Linked DNA regions of Homo sapiens: region 2 is linked to region 1. Evidence: promoter capture Hi-C in human tissues and cell types (Jung and others, 2019). All regions are on one chromosome and are shown on one strand. The core of a region is centred on a gene start or on the middle of the fragment in contact, and the rest is flanking DNA. Distances in the headings are between cores, read along the strand shown.

Evidence for each region. Contacts are between HindIII fragments. The study calls those that stand out against the background at their distance.
Region 2: a fragment that was not itself captured here is called in contact with the fragment with the promoter of CXCR4 in region 1 in 2 of the 25 tissues and cell types used here (H1 embryonic stem cells and spleen).

What each region holds. Positions count from the first base shown.
Region 1 is chr2:136,115,472-136,120,363 of GRCh38, reverse strand. It overlaps CXCR4 (C-X-C motif chemokine receptor 4), which reads left to right and starts at 2,215. Exons shown (of 2, transcript NM_003467.3): 1 at 2,215-2,318; 2 at 4,452-4,892. The coding sequence starts at 2,304. RefSeq lists an enhancer at 3,224-3,293 and a silencer at 3,424-3,593. The HindIII fragment of the contact is 8,205 bases long and covers 1,478-4,892 here.
Region 2 is chr2:136,070,217-136,074,842 of GRCh38, reverse strand. No RefSeq gene overlaps it. Among named protein-coding and RNA genes, the nearest start is that of CXCR4, 46 kb to the left of the region's middle. The HindIII fragment of the contact is 5,764 bases long and covers 1-4,626 here.

The DNA of each region.
Region 1 (4,892 bases), core at 966-3,465:
TTTTAATTATCTGCTTCCTTTTAGTAGAGATCCCTAAAAAGATCTGAAAGGAGTCTTCAGATAAAGGAAGGAGCTTTCTTTTGTCTGTCTACAATCAACAAATATTTATTATGCAAACCATTTTGCTCCGAGTTTTCTCCTCTTTCCCTTTTTGGACAGATTTGGGAGATCTCACCTTTCAGGTTTTAGACATCGTGCAGGGAGGAGTTTTGAGGTAGGGTGCAGCTTACGGTCCAGGATAAAACATACTGATTCTGCCACTACCAGGCTTTGTGAAAAGCAAGTCATGAAAACGCTCTGAAATTCTAGACCTTCAGTAGATAGGATCTACCGTGTCTATAAAAATATGAAGATCCTTAAGTTTTATTAAAGATTCGAAAAAAGTAAAAGTGTTTTTACGGTTTTATTTTCATTTTTATTTCTTACCGTTATCGTTTATTATAAAGGATATTATAAAGGATACAGATGAAGAGATACGTAATGCAAGGCCTGTGAGAAGGGGCGTGGAGCTTCCGAAACCTCTTCCAGCCACCACCCTCCAAGAACCTGGAGTTTCTTTTTTTTTTTTTAATTCTACAAATGTAATATTAGAATTGATTTTATCTGGCCATTAGTGTGTGTCCTAACTCGTTCGTTTCTGAGAGTCCCATCTCCCGGCCCGGATATCATCTTTCCTGTGTCAGTGAAAGTGCAGAGTAGATGAGAACCTTTAACCACCAACATTAGGGAGGGGTCCCAGACAAAGGGGGAAAGTCATGCTCTGTAGAGAAAAGGTTCCCTGCCTCCGAACTACCTCTGGAACACTCCAGACTGAAATGTTTCCTCTTTTGATATAGAAAAGAGGGATCGTGTGTAGAGTGCAGTCTGGGCAATCCCTCTCCTCGGGACCATTTCGGGGTGGGGGCCTCTGGGGTCCGTGTCGCGACGCACGCGCCTCGGTCCCAGCTATCTCCGCAGCGGCCACCCCGCCTGCGGACGCAGTTTCTCGGCCCCGCCCCACACTCGCTCCCCCGCCCCACCCAGTCTCCGCGCCGGAGGGAAGTGGCGCGAGGGGGAAAGCACTGTCTGCGCGCCCACTGCAAACCTCAGCCAGTCTGAGATCGCTTTAAACGTCTGACCCCCACCCCCACTCCGCCCCGCCCAGTTCTTCAACCTAATTTCTGATTCGTGCCAAAGCTTGTCCTCTGCTCAAAATCGTGGAAGACGCCGAGTATGGGGACCGAAGACCTGGGTTCAAGCCCGGCTTGGAATCCCTGCCCATCCCTGGCATTTCATCTCTCCGGGCTTATTTGCTGGTTTCTCCGAATGCGGGCCTTGTCTGGTTCACGCTGGATCCCCAACGCCTAGAACAGTGCGTGGCACGCAGTTCGTCCTTCTATAAATATCGGACTAAATGCATCTCTGTGATGGTAATACCCACACGGTGTTGTGAGAATGAATGAGTGATTCTGTGCAAGTTCCTAGTGATCTGTTACAAAAAGTACTGGTCGCTAAATTACTCTTATAATAAAGCATACTTTTAGGATAATAAAGCACTATTCGCGAATTGGTTACCGCTATTATGAAATTACTGAGCAATACATATCTACATCTGATCAGTCTCCAGAATTATGCCAAATCCTACCTTCTTCTGAAAGTATCTCCTAATTATCTGCACCTGACCCTAGTGATGCTGTGAATGTGCAAGTATAGCTACATCCTCCGAAGGAAGGATCTTTACTCCTTTTACCTCCTGAATGGGCTGCGTCTGCTGAAAGCGCGGGGAATGGCGTTGGAAGCTTGGCCCTACTTCCAGCATTGCCGCCTACTGGTTGGGTTACTCCAGCAAGTCACTCCCCTTCCCTGGGCCTCAGTGTCTCTACTGTAGCATTCCCAGGTCTGGAATTCCATCCACTTTAGCAAGGATGGACGCGCCACAGAGAGACGCGTTCCTAGCCCGCGCTTCCCACCTGTCTTCAGGCGCATCCCGCTTCCCTCAAACTTAGGAAATGCCTCTGGGAGGTCCTGTCCGGCTCCGGACTCACTACCGACCACCCGCAAACAGCAGGGTCCCCTGGGCTTCCCAAGCCGCGCACCTCTCCGCCCCGCCCCTGCGCCCTCCTTCCTCGCGTCTGCCCCTCTCCCCCACCCCGCCTTCTCCCTCCCCGCCCCAGCGGCGCATGCGCCGCGCTCGGAGCGTGTTTTTATAAAAGTCCGGCCGCGGCCAGAAACTTCAGTTTGTTGGCTGCGGCAGCAGGTAGCAAAGTGACGCCGAGGGCCTGAGTGCTCCAGTAGCCACCGCATCTGGAGAACCAGCGGTTACCATGGAGGGGATCAGTGTAAGTCCAGTTTCAACCTGCTTTGTCATAAATGTACAAACGTTTGAACTTAGAGCGCAGCCCCTCTCCGAGCGGGCAGAAGCGGCCAGGACATTGGAGGTACCCGTACTCCAAAAAAGGGTCACCGAAAGGAGTTTTCTTGACCATGCCTATATAGTGCGGGTGGGTGGGGGGGGAGCAGGATTGGAATCTTTTTCTCTGTGAGTCGAGGAGAAACGACTGGAAAGAGCGTTCCAGTGGCTGCATGTGTCTCCCCCTTGAGTCCCGCCGCGCGCGGCGGCTTGCACGCTGTTTGCAAACGTAAGAACATTCTGTGCACAAGTGCAGAGAAGGCGTGCGCGCTGCCTCGGGACTCAGACCACCGGTCTCTTCCTTGGGGAAGCGGGGATGTCTTGGAGCGAGTTACATTGTCTGAATTTAGAGGCGGAGGGCGGCGTGCCTGGGCTGAGTTCCCAGGAGGAGATTGCGCCCGCTTTAACTTCGGGGTTAAGCGCCTGGTGACTGTTCTTGACACTGGGTGCGTGTTTGTTAAACTCTGTGCGGCCGACGGAGCTGTGCCAGTCTCCCAGCACAGTAGGCAGAGGGCGGGAGAGGCGGGTGGACCCACCGCGCCGATCCTCTGAGGGGATCGAGTGGTGGCAGCAGCTAGGAGTTGATCCGCCCGCGCGCTTTGGGTTTGAGGGGGAAAACCTTCCCGCCGTCCGAAGCGCGCCTCTTCCCCACGGCCGCGAGTGGGTCCTGCAGTTCGAGAGTTTGGGGTCGTGCAGAGGTCAGCGGAGTGGTTTGACCTCCCCTTTGACACCGCGCAGCTGCCAGCCCTGAGATTTGCGCTCCGGGGATAGGAGCGGGTACGGGGTGAGGGGCGGGGGCGGTTAAGACCGCACCTGGGCTGCCAGGTCGCCGCCGCGAAGACTGGCAGGTGCAAGTGGGGAAACCGTTTGGCTCTCTCCGAGTCCAGTTGTGATGTTTAACCGTCGGTGGTTTCCAGAAACCTTTTGAAACCCTCTTGCTAGGGAGTTTTTGGTTTCCTGCAGCGGCGCGCAATTCAAAGACGCTCGCGGCGGAGCCGCCCAGTCGCTCCCCAGCACCCTGTGGGACAGAGCCTGGCGTGTCGCCCAGCGGAGCCCCTGCAGCGCTGCTTGCGGGCGGTTGGCGTGGGTGTAGTGGGCAGCCGCGGCGGCCCGGGGCTGGACGACCCGGCCCCCCGCGTGCCCACCGCCTGGAGGCTTCCAGCTGCCCACCTCCGGCCGGGTTAACTGGATCAGTGGCGGGGTAATGGGAAGCCACCCGGGAGAGTGAGGAAATGAAACTTGGGGCGAGGACCACGGGTGCAGACCCCGTTACCTTCTCCACCCAGGAAAATGCCCCGCTCCCTAACGTCCCAAACGCGCCAAGTGATAAACACGAGGATGGCAAGAGACCCACACACCGGAGGAGCGCCCGCTTGGGGGAGGAGGTGCCGTTTGTTCATTTTCTGACACTCCCGCCCAATATACCCCAAGCACCGAAGGGCCTTCGTTTTAAGACCGCATTCTCTTTACCCACTACAAGTTGCTTGAAGCCCAGAATGGTTTGTATTTAGGCAGGCGTGGGAAAATTAAGTTTTTGCGCTTTAGGAGAATGAGTCTTTGCAACGCCCCCGCCCTCCCCCCGTGATCCTCCCTTCTCCCCTCTTCCCTCCCTGGGCGAAAAACTTCTTACAAAAAGTTAATCACTGCCCCTCCTAGCAGCACCCACCCCACCCCCCACGCCGCCTGGGAGTGGCCTCTTTGTGTGTATTTTTTTTTTCCTCCTAAGGAAGGTTTTTTTTCTTCCCTCTAGTGGGCGGGGCAGAGGAGTTAGCCAAGATGTGACTTTGAAACCCTCAGCGTCTCAGTGCCCTTTTGTTCTAAACAAAGAATTTTGTAATTGGTTCTACCAAAGAAGGATATAATGAAGTCACTATGGGAAAAGATGGGGAGGAGAGTTGTAGGATTCTACATTAATTCTCTTGTGCCCTTAGCCCACTACTTCAGAATTTCCTGAAGAAAGCAAGCCTGAATTGGTTTTTTAAATTGCTTTAAAAATTTTTTTTAACTGGGTTAATGCTTGCTGAATTGGAAGTGAATGTCCATTCCTTTGCCTCTTTTGCAGATATACACTTCAGATAACTACACCGAGGAAATGGGCTCAGGGGACTATGACTCCATGAAGGAACCCTGTTTCCGTGAAGAAAATGCTAATTTCAATAAAATCTTCCTGCCCACCATCTACTCCATCATCTTCTTAACTGGCATTGTGGGCAATGGATTGGTCATCCTGGTCATGGGTTACCAGAAGAAACTGAGAAGCATGACGGACAAGTACAGGCTGCACCTGTCAGTGGCCGACCTCCTCTTTGTCATCACGCTTCCCTTCTGGGCAGTTGATGCCGTGGCAAACTGGTACTTTGGGAACTTCCTATGCAAGGCAGTCCATGTCATCTACACAGTCAACCTCTACAGCAGTGTCCTCATCCTGGCCTTCATCAGTCTGGACCGCTACCTGGCCATCGTCCACGCCACCAACAGTCAGAGGCCAAGGAAGCTGTTGGCT
Region 2 (4,626 bases), core at 618-3,117, 45 kb after region 1:
ACTACTGTAGTCCCAGGAGTGAATGACTCCAATTATGAAGGATAAATTCAAATAGTTTTAATGTCACAAGATCTTTGGGTTTTTGAACCGGGAGAATATATTGCTTAATTATTGCTTATTCCCTGCAAATTACACCCTTCTCCATGAAAGGAGAAATTAGGAAATAAAGGGCTTGGGAGCACAACTACAAGGGAAATCTATCTATCCCAACCCATAGCCTCTAATACACCAACTTGTGTAGTACAAATTAAAGGAAAGAAATTTTATGGGCTTATGGATACAGGAGCTGATGTATCAGTAATATCTAAAGATAATTGGCCCCCATCCTGGCCCTTGCAATTAGCTTCTACATCCCTAGTGGGAGTAGGAACAGCTCAAAGTGTTCAACAGAGCACTGAGATTTTATCTTGTCTTGGTCCGGATGGACAGTCATGTATTTTTCAGCCTTATGTTGCAAGTATAGCCATCAACTTATGGGGTTGAGACTTACCTCCAGCATGGGATATGAGACTTAACAAATGAAAACTTTGACAACCTAGGGTTGAAAATGTTGAAGAACATGGGATATCAGAAGGGAAAAGGTTTAGGAAAATTTCTTCAGAGAAATCCTAACTCAATATCAGTAACTGGAAAAACAGATAGAAAAGGGCTAGGACGTCAGGATTTCTGATGGGGGTCATTGATATTTCTCCTCCACCCACTGCCTTACTATTAGAATGGTTTAGTGACAAACCTGTGCAGGTGGATCAATGGCCTCTAACACAGGAGAAGTTAGATACCTCTGGTGCTTCAACTCAATGCTCAGAGCTAACTGCTGGCATTCAGGTTTTACAGCTCACAGCTTCAGATCCTATCAACATTGTCTGTGATTCAGCTTATGTTGTAAATGTAGCCAGTTGCATAGAAACTGCTGCAGTTAAAAGTACACTAGACCCAGAACTGCTTAATTTGTTTCACTTATTCTCATATGCTGCATGCTACATGCCAAAGTGGTGAGACAGCTGGTCACGTAGGGTGACATTGTCTGTCATTATTTGCTTATATGGGAATACCTAAACAATTAAAAACTGACAGGGGACCCACTTATACTAGTCATGCTTTTCAACATTTCTTACAACTTTGGGCTATAACCCATAAAACAGGAATTCCTTGTAATCCTAGAGGACGAGGCATTGTAGAACGGGCACATCAAACATTACAATGCATGTTGAAAAAACAAAAAGGGGGTATAGGAGGCCAACTACCACCTCAATGAAAACTACATTTAGCCTTATTTACTTTAAATTTTTGGACTCCTGGTACGGATGGTAAGACTCCAGCAGAAAGACATTGGCAAGTGTTAGAGGAAAAGAGGAAAGTTAATCCAAAAGTGTTGTGGAAATCCCCACAAGAAGGACAATGGAAAGGTCCAGTGGATTTACTGACACGGGGAAGAGGATATGCTTGTGTTTTTACAGGAGATGGATAAACCGTGTGGGTGCCCTCAAGGTGCATGCCAGCATGGAACGGGAGACTGGAGGAACCCAGGGTGGCCAACCATGGGCTTGGTCCCTCTGGTATGAGCCATGAGTCAGCTGAGCTTGAGTGCAAAGACAGAGAGAAGGCCGACCAAAGACACAACACAGTTCCAATGTTACATTTGTAAAGAATATCACCACTCAATTTACAGTTTGTGTTTTTAATCCTCATGTCTTTCTAGCAGCTAAGAAGGACCAGCTCCAGGTAAACAATACCCAATTGATCTGTAAGTCTTGCCAGTTCTATCACTGCATTAATCTTAGCACATTGCAAACACATAACATCTCTCCTTTGATGATTTTAGGTCGCATCCCTATTCATCCGTCTGAGCCTTGGGCTGCTACACCTGCTTTGCCTTTTGCAAAACTTCTTCTAACTGAGCTTACTCATTGTGTCCATAGAGCCTTAGGCATGATAATTTTTGCTATTGTTTCCTTGATCACACTAATAACTTCTGTTGTGATATCTTCTGCAGCTTTGCATAGTTCTGTTCAAACAGCTCAGTACATGGAGAACTGGACATGCACAGCCGACCAAGCATGGCTACTTCAGAGTAAAATTAACACTGAGTTACAAACTGAAGTGGCAATGTTAAAATCCACAGTTCTATGGTTAGGGGAACAAGTACAAAGCTTGCAATTGCAGCAGCAATTGCATTGTCATTTTAATCACACTCATATTTGTGTAACCAACTTGGAATATAACCAAAGTGAGTATCTGTGGGACCTTGTGAAAGCCCATTTGCAGGGAACTTTCACATCCAACATCACCTTTGATATTGGTGAATTACAAAACAAAATTCTTTATTTAAATAACCCAACTCAAGAGTTTCAGCCTTCTTTAGAAGACTGCACCAAATTCCAGCAAGGCCTGGAGAGCCTCAACCCTTGGACCTATCTAAGGCACCACATTTACATCTTTTGTATGGTTCTTGGAATAATGTTGTTTTGTCTCTGTCTTCTGTTTATAGTCGGTAAAAGAGGATGGACTGCCAATTGGAGAATGAGAGCTGCCCAGCCTGGCCTTACATTCTTTCAATTAATTCATTAACAGGAAGGGAGATATGCAGGGAGCCAAAGGCCCATGGGACGTGACCAACTTGGCATTCTACTGGAGGCTATATGATCAAACAGCAAACTGTTTATCATGAATGCAGGATGTGAGCAAACTCACAACTGCTCCTGCCAACAGAAGCCAACAGAAGTTTTGCTGGAGGCAATCACTCCCTGGCACCGAGGCTATCTACTGTGATATCTAGAGCCTGTTGTTTGAGGAATACAATCTTGCAAGCCTACTCTGGATTGAGCAGCTGACCCCTTCTTCCATTCTCCTTCTCACTATCTCTTTTGCCTAATAAATACGGAGGGCTGTGTAAAGCTCGGGGCCCTTGTCCACTAGAGGCAAGGTGCCCCCTGACCCCTCTTCCAAATATACTCTTTTGTCTCTTATCTTTTATTCCCATGTTTGCCCCTCTTTGTTCAGTCCATCTAGGTCTGTGCAGGTTACAATGCATTAGCTCTTTCCTGGTTCTTCAGCTTGATGGCTGTTGGACTTGAACCTCCACATTGACTCTTCCCTGGGTCTCCAGCCTACAGGCCCACTCTGCAGATTTTGATCTTGTCAGCCTCCATAATCCTATGAGCCAATTCCTTCAAATAAATATCTTTCTACATGTAGATATATCCCACTGGTTCTGTTTTTCTAGAGAATCCTGACTAATATGGCTAACCAGAGTAGCTTCTGTTATTTGCAGCCAAGAACACTGACCTGTGTTTTTTTTTAATTCCTTAGGGAATGCTAGTATATTTCCCACTTTAAGAAATACTTTTCTAAATACTTCCCTGCTTTATTCCTTTATGTGTTCCTCAGTAAAAGTGTCCTTGGGGAACCCAGGACAGTGGACCCACTGATATAATTTGCCTACCTTGGAAAATGTACAGATGCACCTGTTGTTCTCCCAACCTCTGGGTTATACTTGATAATGATACCTTCTGTTTCTACCGTGCTTTCTTTCTCATTGTGGTAAAACAAACAAACAAAAAATATTTAACATAAAATTTATCATCTTAACCTTTTTTAGGTGGGCGTAAAGTTCAGCAGCGTCAAGTATATTCACATTGTTGTGAAACAAATCTCTAGAACTTTTTTGTCTTCTGAAACCCTATACTCATTAAAACAATAACTCTCCTTTCCCCTCCTCCAGTCCCCAGTAACCACCTTTCTACTTTCTGTTTCTGAGTTTGACTACTCTAGGTACCTCATATAAGTGGAATCATATGGTAGTTGCCTTTTTGTTCCTGGCTTATTTCACTTAGAATAATGTCCTTAAGGTTCACGCAAGTTGTAGCATGCGACAGGGTCTCCTTCCTCTTCAAGACTGAATAATATTCCATTGTATGTGTATATCACATTTTGTTTATCCATTCATTTGTGGATGGTAACTTGGGTTGCTCCCACCTCTTGGCTATTGTGAATAATGCTGCTATGAATGTTGGTATGCAAATATCTCTTTGAGACTCTGATTTTGATTATTTTGGATATAAATCCAGAAGCCGGATTGCTGGATTGCTGATGGTTCCTCATAGGATTGCTGGGTCCTGTGAGGAACCATCATACTGTCTGCATAGGAATTGCACCACTTATCCATGATGCATTTAGCTCCTCAAAGCAATCTTACAGTTTTAGTTTTGTCCTCACAACCTTACGAGGTAAGTAGAGCACACATTATTATCCCCATCTTGCGGATGAAGTAGTTGAGGCATAAAGGTGTCAAACAGCTTGCATAACATAACAGCTATTTTTTTTTTTGAGATGGAGTCTTCTTCTGTTGCCCAGGATGGAGTACAGTGGCACAATCTTGGCTCACCGCAACCTCTGCCTCCTGGGTTCAAGTGATTCTCTTGCTGCAGCCTCCTAAATAGCAGGGATTACAAGCACGTGCCACCATGCCCGGCTAATTTTTGTATTTTTAGTAGAGATGGGGTTTCACCATGTTGGTCAGGCTAGTCTCAAACTCCTGACCTCGTGATCTGCCCACCTCAGCCTCCCAAAGTGCTGAGATTACAGGCATGAGCCACCGCACCCAGCCATATAACAGCTATCTTATGG